3 separate regions of the Homo sapiens genome follow, and regions 1 and 3 are each linked to region 2. Evidence: promoter capture Hi-C in 16 types of primary human blood cells and fetal thymus (Javierre and others, 2016). All regions are on one chromosome and are shown on one strand. Each heading gives the region's core, a stretch centred on a gene start or on the middle of the fragment in contact. The rest is flanking DNA. Distances are from core to core; before and after follow the strand shown. Region 1 overlaps MEF2C-AS2 (MEF2C antisense RNA 2). Region 2 holds the start of CCNH (cyclin H). Region 3 overlaps MEF2C (myocyte enhancer factor 2C).

Region 1 (4,555 bases), core at 785-3,284, 1.3 Mb after region 2:
CTAGCTCAACCCATTACCCCATCACTCTCTACCACATTTGTATTTTAAAAATAGAATCTGTAATAATCTGAAAGAGCTTTGTTTCTATATTCGTTTACACTTTTAAATATACTTCTATTACAGGAACCACCAAGAGGTCAGGGACTTTGCCTGCCTTACTCATTACACAGCAGATACTCAGTAAATATTGAATAAATGATTAAATATGTCTATTTGTGATATAGGTCATCTTTTGGATATCTCGATCATTAGCCATTCTTCATTTGTATATATTATGCATACAAAAAAAGCACCAGTTCTGTTTTGTTTTCTAGTAACAATACATTTCTTAACCAGAAGCTAAAGTGGTTTGGGATAAGGCAGAACCTGGTTTAGAAATTAATGCAGAGAAATAGCTAGTTGGAAAGAATACTTGCTACGTACACCATTTCTTTTAGAAGACAACTTGCTAGTAGCAAGGGATTGTGTTATGCATAGATTTTACAAAATATCAAGACTACAGTAATCACTGAATACTTGCATTCATTTATTCATTAATTCAGCAAACATCCATAGTATGGCACTCTATGGTTGGTGCTGTGCACACAAAAATAATTAACATGATTCTCTCACAAGTTAGAGGTACAGTGACAGTCACCATCCTTTTAGGTAAAACTGCAAGCAGGAAAAATAAACTGCAGTGCATCTAGTCATTTTTCCATTTGCTTTCATTTCCTTCCTTCTTTAGGCACCCTTTGTATCTGGCTCTCCTTGTTTCTTCAATCAACTGTAGAAAAGTATCTGATAAAATTTCATACTAAAGTGTAAGAGATTTATATTGGCTATGTCCTAGAGATATTTACTTTATATCAAATTAGAAAGCAAATGAGAAACTCTCTAATTATGGACTTTCCAAACCAGACAGGAGAAGGTAAAATTATTTTTAAAGCCGCTGTTCCTGAAATCACACCGCCTAGGAAACTGATTAATTTGTTTATTCATTAACTTTGAGAACTTCACATTGAGCAACAAAAGGAGTCTTCTGTAAGATATAATTGGTGAGACTCCATGGACACTTCTAAAACTAAGTAAGTTCCTTCAATGCATTTAACATTTGGAGGGAGGATACTTTTGGTGTGTTCCTTTCTCTTTTTTTTTCCCTTTCCTTCTTTTCTTCCTCCCTTCTTTTTCTTTCCTCCTTCTCCTTTCTCCTCATCCTCTTCCTGATCCTTCTCCCCCTCTTGCTCTTCCTCCTTTTTTTCTTCCTTCTGCTTCATTTTTGCTCTTACTTTCTCTCCTGGAAATCCTGAAGATATGAGGAAATGTTGTAAGAAAAAAAAAAAGAAGAAAGGGATTTTCAGGACTTAGCCAGCATGACCAGGCAGTCAGAGGCAATGAAGAAATTACTTGGAAGGAATAGGTTGGTGTTGGGGTCTATTCAGTTGTTGTCCTCTCCTTTTGGCCTGACTAGGGAAATAGTGATAGAAGTGGGGTATTTCCTAAGCTTAGATGCTTGAATTATTCATTAGTCTAAAGTAAATTAACATTTAGAGGCAGGTGACACACATTTTCTTGAACAATTATTATCACTAATCATCATTTTCCACAGTAATTTGTATGCTCTCATTATTAGCTCTTGATTTCTATGTAAATCCTTTCCATAAAACTGCCACAAGATGGAAGTTTTTTTATTGGCTCTCTTTACCTCTTGATATATTTCTTGGCATTTTGGCATTCCTCATCTGGCACTTGATGGCTGGGTTTTCAGATTAGGCTGACTGTTGACATGCCCATATAAAACATTCTTTCATTGAGCATATTGCATTTATACAGGAGGCCACCTTGTCCCACCTTCTGCCATATTGTGCCCATATTTTTTTATGTCAATTGTCCAAACATTGACTCTCACATTTTCCCCCTTTTGATTTTTCATTGTGCACCACATTTGACACTTTAACTACTTTTACTAGTTGTCCATGCCTTGTCACAAAGACTGAAACTGACACAGGTTTTGCCTAAACAGTTGCCTTGAATAAGTACATTTGTCATATGGATATCCCCTTCAAATCCTTTAGAACACCTTGGATACTTTTCTGCTAATCTTTTCTTACAGTTATTTGGGCTCCAGGACTCAGCTACGTGAAGGGAACTATCATTCTTTGTAACAGTTATTTCATACCAACAGTAAATTTTTAAATAAACCCCAGAAAGTGTTCTTGAGATTAGCTAGTTCATGGCAGCCTGTGGCTTGTGTCCCTGTCTGGCTCCTGAGGGAATGATCCAGTTTGATTGAAGAATTGCTGATAATTCTACTAAATTGAAAGAGTTCCACTTTGATCTAATATAATATCTAAAATTTTTACCTTTAGAATAAACCTCATTATACTGGTGAGGAGAGGGATGGACACCCTAGAAAGAGTCAATGCATTAATTTCCAGCATTTACAGGTTAAGTGACACTTAATAAATCATTGAAGAGTCGCTTAACCTGTGAATGAGACCCGTAAATGAAACCATCTCATTCAAGTCCTGGCTCTCTGATTTACCAATGGGGTGACCCTATGGCAAGTTAATTCATCCTATGCCTCAATTTTTCTCACCCATAAAAAAGCTTTACTGATTGTGCCTATCTCACAATGTTGTTATGAGGATTCAATGAGTTAATGCCTGAAAACCTGAAATTAGTGCCTGGCATCTAGTAAGTACATCTAGTGTCAGCAAAGACTGTGATGATGATGGTGAGGATGGTGGTACATGAATAGTTTTCCTGGAACAAAAAAGGATGAAGCCTTAGCAAAATGGACACAAATATATAATTTTTTTTATCTCCAAAATTGGGTAAGAATGGTCTGAAGAACAGGTGATATTGTTTGGATATTCGTCCCCAGCCAAATTTCATGCTGAAGTGTAATCCCCAAAGCTGGAGGTGGGGCCTGGTAGAAGGTGTTTGGATCATGGGAGTGGATCCCTCATGGCTTGGTGCTGTCTTCATGATAGGGAGTTCTAGCAAGATATGGTCACTTAAAAGTGTGTGACACTCCCACTCCTGCACCAGCCCCACTCTCTCTTGCTTGCTCCTGCTGTTGCCATGTGACTTGACTGCTCCTCCTTTGCCTTTTCCCATGATTGTAAGTTTCCTGAGGCCTTCCTAGAAGCCAAGCAGATGCCAGCACCATGCTTCTTGTACACCCTGCAGAACCTTGAGCCAATTAAACTTCTTTTCTTTATAAATTACCAGTCTCAGGTATTTCTTTATAGCAATGCAAGAACAGCCTAACACAACAGATATTTCCTGTGGAGAGCAGGCCTAGGTAAGTATCTCTAAGAGAAAGTCCTAGGTAGCCCCAACATCCTCACATGGCTGAGGAATGTATTGTGCCTGATCCTTCACAAGTGTTCAGGGCAAACGTTGTGACTAAGCTCCTGCAACAAGCATTCATTGTTAAAGACTCTGAAGAGAAGGTGGTTTAGTGAAGGGGTTGAGTGACTTTTCCCTAAAGAAGCTTTGCAGCCTTAGCAGAGCTATGCTTTTCATGACCCCTTTCTGGAACCAATTTCATGGTTACAAATTATGCACGAACATCTCCAGTTGGTTTCCTACATTAAAAATACTGCCTCAGTTTTAAATTTTACCTGAAGGCTGGTTACACCAAGCTCTTACCTGTCATATTTTTAATGCATTAAGTCTGTATTCTGGCTCATTGTTGAGTCTTGTCATTTTGGCCAGAAAATGTAACTGCAGTGCTACTGACATTGTCCTAATGGTGTCTTTACATAAAATACAATTTTCTTAAACAAGGAAGAAAAGCAGCTTCAAGATCAGTGACACCAACACTGTAAAGTAAGGGTTTTAACTTCAAGACCTATTCAAACAGTTATCTGTGTCAGCATACGTGTGTGTGTACACACACACACAGACTTCAGAGACGCAGGCAGAGAAAAACACAGGATAACATTCCACATCATTGTGAAGCTTCCAGAAGTATGAAGCTCAGGAGTACGTCAACAGAGAGTACTGTTACCATATCCAACCTGCTCCTCCTCCTTTTGACATTTCTAAAGAAGCAAAGGAGCTCCTGCTGTTCAGGCACTGCAGGAGAGGAACGTACACTAGCTGTGCCCAAAGGGGTTTGCATTGTAAGCTGGATGAAAATAACTTCTCTATCTTTTCTTGGAAGATTATTTTTTTGTCCACATAAAATAAACACAACAGAAAAACATGTCATTTCAGGAACATAGTGTTTCACAGACCCCTAAGTCATTGCCATCACAATTTAAAAATCAATTCTGGCGTGCTGAATTGAAAAAACTGGGAAGAACCAGTTAGAAGAGGTATATAAATATAAAATCTAAATGTAAGAAACAACACAGGAGGCTGAGGCAGGAAGATTGCTTGAGTCAGGAGTTTGAGATTACAGTGAGCTATGACTGCACCACTGCACTTCAGCCTGGGTGACAGAGTGACACTCTGTCGCTAAAAAAAAAAAAAAAAAAAAAGGAAAGAAAAGAAACAACAACAACGCAGTCATTAATACACAATAGGTAAGTTTTCCTTGATCCGATGTCTTTGTTTTTAG
Region 2 (4,877 bases), core at 786-3,285:
TGGAAAAGCAGTAGTCTATGTTCTAGTCCCAGTCCTATGGCTCATTAGTTGAGAACTTAGAGGAAAGTAATTTATTTTTTTTCTTTCTTTATGACATTACCTGACCTCAAATTTTTTTCTGACCACAAAGTGAGACTTGAAATACTTTTGAAGATATGATACAGCAACTCATGATTTAAGGCCTGTATTGAAAAATATATAATGTGCCAAAAACTAATTAATTGTAACTAAGGTGAATTTTTAAGACTTGAGTGGACAGGGAATTTAGAAGAGGTCAAATTTCACAAGCCAACTAAAGGACATTATATTTCATCACCACTGTAACTTACCACAACAGATCTTGGCATTGCTGGCTTAAACACCGAACAGAATTCCAATAACCTTTTCTCATAGTATTTGCAGAGTGTCATTTCTTCATGAGGCTCAAGAAAGACTGGATCATTCGGAAGAACCTTTAGATCAACAATTACAACACAAGTTCAATGAATTCAATGAATTAAACAATTGTAAAACATTTTTCTCTATCTAGATTAAATTTAGTTTATATATCCAACGAAGGGTATATATCACGCCTCATTTTCTTTATAGATTCGCTAATCATTACACAAAATAGCTGTAGGAAAATATTTAATAAACTAAAACTGTACCATCATTTCACGACTTTTCGGAATGTCAGCTAGACCTTTGCTTCATTAAAGTATAAACAATCATGACAGGCTGTGTGCACATGCTCACAGTTGTGATATCATTATTTATAAATTAAAAAGTAGACAGACTTTTTAAAATATGATTGGAAAGCTTCCAACATCCGTTTCTCGGTCAGTCATTACGTCACAAGTTGTAAAAAAACAGCAAATGTTTCAATAAATTTCTGTTATTTTAAGCTACCCAGTTTGTGGTGATTTTTTTAAGGCAGCCCTTAGGAAACTAATTCAGGTGCTAAAATCAGTGATATGAAATAGATGTGAATTAAAGGTAGAAAGTAAAGTAACTCAGTATCGGTAATTTGGAGGCACTGAACACTTGCTGGAGTGGAGCTTGCAGGAAAGATTAAACCAGTCCGAGAGCTGTAACAGAAGGAACTTGGCTAGCGGGCCATAGTCCAAACCATCTTCAGTCACTTGGTTTGTACTTGGTCTCTGGTCTCCCTCCCTCATCCAACCCATTCACCACGAGGTTGCTAGAGCGCTGTTTCCAGAACGGAAATCTGATAAGGTTAGCTTCCCATTTTAAATATTTCAAAGGTTCCTCATCCTTTCAGTGGAAATGTTAAACGCCTCACTTCCACTTACAAGTTCCCTTCCTACCCTCCCCAGCCATTCCTGCACAGGTACTCAACTTCGGCCACATACGACCACAAACACGTCCACGCACCATCTCTGTAACTTCTGACCTCCCTCCCACTCTGAACGGTGGTTCTGACTGCCTGGAACTTCCTTTCCCATTTTCTCCGCATTGGCTACTGGGAAAAACCTTCCCCAACATCATCTCTTGACAAGTGAACGGCTCTTGCCACGCACTACCTTAGCACACTACTTACTCTCTTCTTCACTACGTTACAAAGACTGGTTACTTGTCTGCCATTCGACGACGGGGATGGCGTTGTTCGTCTTTGTACCCACGGAACCTGGCAAGGTGCTCGCTTATTTTGATAGAAAAACGCACTCCGCGCCGCAGAGGCAGAGAAACGACGGAGCGAGATTGTCCTGGGAGCCAGAAGAGCTCCCGCAGCTGCTCAGAATTTAGTGACCGGGCAACTGGGCAACCGTTGGGAAAACCTCACCTTCCCGTTGGCCACGGCTTTGCATCTGAATTTGCGGTTGGCGTCAGCCCGCAGTCTTGCCAGCTGCTCCTCGCTGGAGAAGGTCCAGTGCCGCTTCTGACTACTGTTGTGGTACATTATGGAATCGTGACCAGGTCCAGAGGGTCTGCAGACGAGAACCCAAACGCATCAGCGTCCTGGCGTAAAACACCCGTACCCCCACCGAAGATCTCGCGGAAGCCTAGGGCGTCCGGCTAGCCGGCGCTGGCGCGCTGTCGTCACGATTACGCGGCCAGCCCGTACGCAGTTGCATTTCCGGAGCGGACTAGGAACAGACCGTATCCCGGGTTCGTTAGGGCGCCCACTGAGACGTAAGTGGGCGGAGCCTAGAGAACGCTCCTCTCGGTGAGTCTGGGACATAGCTCCGCCCCTTCCAGGCAAGATTTAAAGGAGAAGCGCCCGGCAAGAGTGTTCAAGGGGCATAAACTGAGGGTACGGAGTAGGCAGATGTAAATTCACAGGGGATAATCAGAAATGAGGAAAGGATTTCGTAGGGTGCTCATTTTTAAATAGAGGCCTCACTGAAGTTGACATTTGTGAAAAGGCTTGAAAGAGTTGAAATAGTAGGTTGATCAATCATGTAGGGAGATCACGGGGCCCAGAAAGAATAGGTAAGATCTTCAGGCAGAAGCATTCCTAGCCCTTTTCAGGAAGAGTTTGGAGACCAGTATTCTTGAAGCACTACCAGAAATCTCGGAGAATGGAACATGGCTGAAAAACTTGAAGCAGTGGATGCGTATTGGCCCTTACAGTTCTGCCACTTTTGTTGCCTTGTCTGTTCTTTCTCTGTGCTTTTTTTCCTTACCCTTCTGTTGATAACTAGCCAATCCTCTCCCTCTGTTTTCATCTCTGAAGCCAGGATGTATGGTAGTATTCGTTTTATTGAGATTCCCATTTTCATTGCCTCTAGGGAGCCTTACAGTAAGCTATCATGAAAATTAAGGTATTTACTATTTTTTAAATTAATAGGACTTTCAAAATTGCAGGTGAGGTTCAAAATTTACATGGATTCTGGTTTGTCCCATTTAGGCATACCTTATTCTCTCATGTATTTATTATATATCCAATCCGAAAAATGGATTTCCCTATGGCAAATAGCTTTTCTAAAAAATAAATAAATAAATAAAAAGAAAGAGAAAGATGATGAGACCTAGAGAATTTAGGTCTTGAAAAGCCCACACAGGTAAAAAGAAGAAGTGGCAGGATGACTTTAACTCTGCTTTCTATTAAAATGTTTTTAGGGGCTTAAGAAAGGGAAAGCCTTTTCTTTTTCATTTTTGTTGGGTACAGCTGAGGTTAGAGTTTGCCACAGTTATCTGAATTCCTCAAACTTATGCCATTTGTGGTATATAATTTTGGAGAGCCACACACTCAACATATGTGGCTAACCTGGTCTCATAAATTGGCTAAGAAAAGAGAGAAAAAGAGAAGATCAAAGGGCATGGCAAATTGATTACAATGAATTGTGAACAACCTAAAATGTTGCATGTTGGGGAAAGAATAATTTAAAAGAGAAAAACATAATGGTACAAAAGATAGGAAAATAAGTGATCTAGATAATTAAATGTCTATATAAAGTCTTAGCCTCATGACTGTTATATATATCATATAAATTCTTTTCATTTTGTTTTTCTGAAAGATATTTGACAACTCCTTAGTTTTATGTAAAGGATAATAAAAATAGGCATTTAAAAGAGTTGGCAGACTGTGATTTCCACAGAGATATGAGTAAAATTTCTGAATGTCATTTAGGAAAAATATATGAAAAACCTGGCATTGCTGGTGTAATTTTTTTTAAACCTTGAACAAATTTTAGTCCATGAAAATTGACATTGATCTTATTTTTCAGATGTAGTAGGAATTGGGCTCTGTCTAAATTAACTGTCTGAGGAATACAATTGTTGCTGATGCCCTAACATTAAGGCTCATGTATGGTTTTTCTTACTAAGGTAAGCAGACTGGATGCTGTGACAGTCTCCTACTCAGCCTGTTGTGCGACAGTGTTTCTTTGCTATTGCTACCACAGGAGGCACACTGGAATGCAGAACTTGTGCCTTTACCTATTTCCATTTCTAGTTTCAACTAAAAAGTAGCAAGTGTTTCTCTTCACTTCTATTATTTTTACTTATTTATTTATGGAGAATTTCAAATATAAAGAATACAGAGAAACATATTTCAAAAATTATCAATACATGGCCAGTTCCCTTCTACCCTCCACCCACACCTCCATTAGGTTTTTTTCTTCTTCTTCTTCTTCTTTTTTGAGACAAAGTCTTGCTCTGTCACCCAGACTGGAGTGCAGTGGCACAATCTTCGCTCACTGCAACCTCCGCCTCCTGGGTTAAAGCCATTCTCCAGCCTCAGCCTCCTGAGTAGCTGGGACTACAGGCTCATGCCACCATGCCCAGCTAATTTTTGTATTTTTAGTAGAGATGGGGTTTCACCATGTTGGCCAGGCTGGTCTAGAACTTGTGGCCTCAAGTGATCCGCCTGCCTGGGCCTCCCAACTCCATTAGTTTTAAATCACAATGTCCCTGCTACTAAATGAAGATATTTCAAACAAGAACAAACCAACTAACCAGACAGAACCTATTCTTCCTAGAAGACATAGGGAAATTCACAGCTTGTTGACAAAGATATCACTATTTCATTAGACACTACTCAGAAGTGAAATGTTAAGAAATATTTCAATGACTTTTAAAAGTAAATACAATCTCTTTTATTGTGCTGCAGTTGTTAAATTGTGCTATGGTATGTACTTGTAGACAAATTCCAAATATTTTGACTTGCAGGCATTACCTGTAAACTAAGGGTTACCAATCAGAGATTAGGTGATGCCAAGCAGGTGTCATCTGTTTGGCCACCACAGAAATGTCCTGTACTTATCCACGTGCTATTCCAAAATTTCCCATAAGAGTATTAGGATTTCCTTTCTCTTGCTTCAGGACAGTCTTCCTTCTTTGCGGTCTACCTAGTGATCTTAATGTTTAGGGAAAAATAAAAGTAAAAAGGTCATATTGCCTGATCTTAGGAGAAAAGGAAGAAAAGGGGAATT
Region 3 (4,560 bases), core at 52-2,551, 1.3 Mb after region 2:
AGTTAGCCTTAAAATCTATTTTGTACAAGTGTTCTGTTGTACAACTCAAGTGCTAAGCTTATCTCAGCATTTCTGTTTATCTTTATACTGTATCACTGAGGCAATTTAAAAGTACTTTTACAAAACAGAGTACCTGACTTTTTTTTTTTCCACACACGGCACATATAATGCATATCGACCCCCCTTCCCCATTAAGGTATAGCACACACACACACTGCAAGAAAAAAAAAAAAACTAGTAAGTAATAATCTGATCATGTTGCCCATCCTTCAGAAAGTCGCATGCGCTTGACTGAGGGACTTTCCCTTTCGTCCGGCGAAGGTCTGGTGAGTCCAATGGGGGAGTGGAATTCGTTCCGGTGATCCTCTCGGTCGCTCCCGTCGTACGAACTGCTACAGCTGCTCAAGCTGTCAACAGGAGATCTCCCCGCCTCGTGGCGCGTGTGTTGTGGGTATCTCGAAGGGGTGGTGGTACGGTCTCTAGGAGGAGAAACAGGTTCTGACTTGATGTTGAGGCTTTGAGTAGAAGGCAGGGAGAGATTTGAACTCTGAGATAAATGAGTGCTAGTGCAAGCTCTGTAGGAGGAAAGGAAACCCAGTTACAGATGAAGGAGGCCTGGAGGCCCCAGGAACTCACAATTAAATCAAACATCAGCTTAAAGACTCGCATAGACACCAGAGCATGCCCAGAGTGAAGAAAACGTGCTTGGAAGCACATAAGGGCATCGCCTTCTCAGGGCGATTTAGGATGCCTTTGTTGATTTGCCCGGTAGTAATTACAGCATTTAACTGGTCCAGGCCTCATGAATTATATCTCTAGTCTCCGAGAGGCTCCCTAAACATATAGGTTACCATTTCAGAAAGGTTTAAGACACAATGGAAAAAGCATTTTCTGTGTTCATGGACTCTATCCCTAGACTAGTTCTAAAAATTAAATTTCTAAGCATTTAGATACAGTGTTTAGCTCTGGAATTAGACTTCCTTGATTTACTAATGCTTGTGTTTGAATATTATTTTTAAAAGCTTATTATCAATATAAATATTTGCCTCCAATTAATAAGCACATACAGATGGAATCACATAGTCTTCAGAGAAAGTGAAGGGAGTTAAATTTTAAATGACTAGAACTCAAATGCTGCACAATAACTGTATCTGGTAAAAAGCTTTGGAGGTGGAAAAAATGGAAAGGGGGAGGGAAATTGAAAATTATCTGCAGAAAGTTTAAACGTTGGTTTTCAAACACTTAAGACTTTCTACTCCATTAAAACTGATAATTTGACTTTCTTCATCCTTTTGCAGTTACATGAGATGAAAATACTTTGTGTTCCACAATGACCTCAATTTTATTAATGTTAGTCACTCCCTGATGCGTGCGGTTCTTAGGCTACCACTCCTCTTATTTATCATTGGCATTAGTTGATGAATCTGGTGTTGCCTAAGGAAAGCTTGTTGCCAAGAAGGATGTAGTGTGATTTTACTGTGTTTATAATCCTTAATCCTCATATATTCCCAGAGAGAATAATTTTTCCTTTTTCCAAAATCTGGGAAAATTTAGAAACTTGGAATTCTAGAGGAAAAAAGTATTAAGCCCTTAAGTGTAGATTAGCAATCACAATGACTTTGATCAGGATAAACCATAGTGGCATTGCTCGCATCAATTTTAAGATGCTTTTACTCTTCTTACACTAATTACACTGACTTCCAGAGCTAGAGTCAGGATTACTTGACTATATTGTCAAAAGAGCATGGTACTCTCTTTTACTGAGGAAGAATCCAAGTGAAGAATTATCCATACAGACACACCCATTTTAAACAAAGGAAAGCAAGCCTACTTACTAATGTATGTAATTATGCTGCTTTCCAGTGGAGAGAATTAGTTGGCACTAACAATGTCATTATGACCACTGAGAGAAAAAGTATATATTTCAGAAAAAAAGTGAAGTAACTTGGGGCTGGCTTTTTGGGAGATGCAATACAAACTCAAGATGTATAGTGATATAAAATTAGTCAGAAACGAGTTTATCTTTGAGTGATGTTTTGTACAAAAGCACCACCTACTGGCAAAGAATTACTTTCCTTCTCCTATTAATAAATAGATGAGCTAATGTAGAGAATAATATAAAGGAGAATTATTTGTTTCCTTAATAAGCGTCTCTTTCTCTAGCTTTTATGATCTTATATAATCAAAGCAGTGTTAGCATTTATATCAAGAAACTACACTGACTGTATATAATTTTCAAACACCTGTTTATATTTGGAGCTATTTATTTGTAGCTTATTAATTTATAGTCTATCAGTTTACTAATTTTCCAAAAGTTTTAATTAAATAAGCCTTGTTAAAATGGGGAGAGGGAACACCTGTATTTCAAAAGGATTCATAATGGTAGACTATTTTATCTTGGTTCAAAGTTACTTAGTGATTCATTCTGATGTTTGAGGAAATCGTCTTTTGATTTCTGGAATAAAGAATTTTCCTGGCTCTAAGAAAGACCATTTCACTAAAATTTAATTAAATGCTTCTGCTATGAATCACACAACTATTTAATAATGAATATGAATTAGGAGTCTGAAAATAAAAAGTGATATGTCAATAAATACTTTTGCTTGCTCTTTGACATACAGATTATGTCTTCACAGGGAGGGTGACATAGAAAATTAGAAGAAAAAATTGGTGAGTTGGACAGTCTAAGCAGTTAATCTAGACAAGGTAAGGGAAAAATAATATAACCAAAATTCTGTTTCTTTAATACAGTTTTTGGAAGCTGCATTATTCACCTCTTTGCATCATCTTCCTATGTTAACTGGCCTGTATAGGTTTAGCTGTGTATCTTCCCCATGAAAGATGTAACAATTATTGGTTATCCCTTCCTACAAACAGACTAGCTTAAATTTATCTTTTGGTGGAATTTCATTTGACACTGAAAACATACATGAAGCATTTTGAGTAGTTCTGGGGACTAAATCCACAGTAGTAAAATGCAAGTGATATCTTAGATTCAGCTTCATTATACTGTGACATAGGATATAAAATAGAATGGCTAGTCTCTGTTAACAAAGAAGTATTTTCTTGAAAAGAAAAAAGTAGCATTAAAATAACTTAACTGCATATATGCTAGGTTCAGATATAAGCATGTTGGTCTACTTGAGAACAAAATATAGACACGAATAATTATAGACCCTGATAATTGTGAAATACTGCATATGTGTGGGTGGGTGATAAAGAGGTGGGTGGGGAGATAGAAGCCAGATATGCAAGTTACCCATATCAAGTCCTCTATGCAAATTTTCATCTATTACAGATGCTTTTGAATTGGGAAAACTCCTACCCTTTCCCATAATTGTTCAGAAATCAAACATGACTGGATAGTTTTATTCAAAATTTTTACTGCCTCCGCCTGGAAATTAGACTATCAAACTATATTTAACCTAACCTTTTATAAGTCATCTCTACTCAGAGTTATCTCTCTCAGTATGTACTGAACACCCACATCAACAAAGTTGACGTATGGAAATGCTTCCAGAAAACAGGCTGCCCTTTTTATAGGTGGTGGTTTAGAAAAACACTAAAACTTAGTGTTACACTAAATCAAATATTAGTATTCAAAGGACTTTCATTAACTCTTGATGGCAAGTTCCTCTGTCAGCCATCTCTCTCCCTATAGCAAATAAATTTGTGTTGCTTACTTAGCTTGGTTAGATAAAATCAGATACTAGGTTTTAAAAGTATAGCTTTGAAGACTTAAAGCTCCAAAGGACAAAATGAACTTTTTTTCCATGGACAAAATATGAAGAACTCTGTTTATGGTTTTGCAATTTTGAGAAAGAATTGTGGTAACCATCTTGGGCTGCTGGGAATATCTACTTTGGTGGAGCTGAAATATATTCCACTCTGCTATGAACATTGTCTCTAGCCAAAAGAATGTGAGCCCGCAACACAAATCTCTGCGACAACTTTGGCCTGGAAAATGTATCAATTCTTTTTAAATTGATTTACACTGTAAAGAATTAAGGATGCTCATGTGAATTACTTTACATAAGTATTGCAGCTTGGGATTTTTTAAAAAAACAGTTTAACATTTAATCGTGTGAATATGAGGTAGTCCATGTGAAGGAACCTCCTTTCAAAAAGCTACTCTGTGTGTGATTGTGAGAGGGAGAAAAGAGTGTGTGTGAAGCAGAGAGAGAGAAGGGCCAACAGTGGAAGGACTGGAAGGGTCATTCCATTGATTTGAGGGGTAAGGGAAGTGATTAAGTGCAATTAAAACTCACAGAGAAAACTAAGAGTCAAATTAAGCACAACGAAATTAAGTGTTGAAAGGAACCGGGAGCTGAACAAAATGCTTAACCTTTGGCTGTTGTAATTCAGTTCCTTTCTGTCTAAGGCTGTCCCTCCTTTCTCATTTTCTGAAACCTCTATTAGAGGCAGCAGAGAATTAGATTCTTCCTTGTAATAGAAAAGAGTTTTAAAATTGTAGTACAGCTAAAATATGTAAATAAATATGTGTTTATATGTAAAAATATAAATTATCAGGTACTATTGAAAACAAAAAAAAGCCACATT

What was found. The method cuts DNA at HindIII sites, captures the fragments that hold promoters and counts their contacts. A CHiCAGO score of 5 or more calls a contact.
Region 1: a fragment that was not itself captured here is called in contact with the fragment with the promoter of CCNH in region 2 in 2 of 17 cell types (M2 macrophages and endothelial precursors); the score reaches 7.2 in M2 macrophages.
Region 3: a contact is called between a fragment that was not itself captured here and the fragment with the promoter of CCNH in region 2, in 1 of 17 cell types (M2 macrophages). The highest score is 13.1, in M2 macrophages.

Annotation. Positions count from the first base shown.
Region 1 is chr5:88,698,530-88,703,084 of GRCh38, forward strand. The region is part of intron 1 of MEF2C-AS2 (MEF2C antisense RNA 2); the gene reads left to right. Among named protein-coding and RNA genes, the nearest start is that of GSCAR, 3.7 kb to the left of the region's middle. The HindIII fragment of the contact is 1,106 bases long and covers 1,482-2,587 here.
Region 2 is chr5:87,410,895-87,415,771 of GRCh38, forward strand. It overlaps CCNH (cyclin H), which reads right to left and starts at 2,036. Exons shown (of 9, transcript NM_001239.4): 1 at 1,784-2,036; 2 at 330-452. The coding sequence starts at 1,900. LOC105379066 (a long non-coding RNA gene) reads left to right here and starts at 2,088. Exons shown (of 3, transcript XR_948543.1): 1 at 2,088-2,167. RefSeq lists enhancers at 1,663-1,792, 1,823-1,992. The HindIII fragment of the contact is 6,680 bases long and covers 797-4,877 here.
Region 3 is chr5:88,722,351-88,726,910 of GRCh38, forward strand. MEF2C (myocyte enhancer factor 2C) reads right to left here. Exons shown (of 11, transcript NM_002397.5): 11 at 1-575. The coding sequence ends at 254. It overlaps MEF2C-AS2 (MEF2C antisense RNA 2), which reads left to right. Exons shown (of 4, transcript NR_146284.1): 4 at 274-481. Among named protein-coding and RNA genes, the nearest start is that of GSCAR, 27 kb to the left of the region's middle. The HindIII fragment of the contact is 282 bases long and covers 1,161-1,442 here.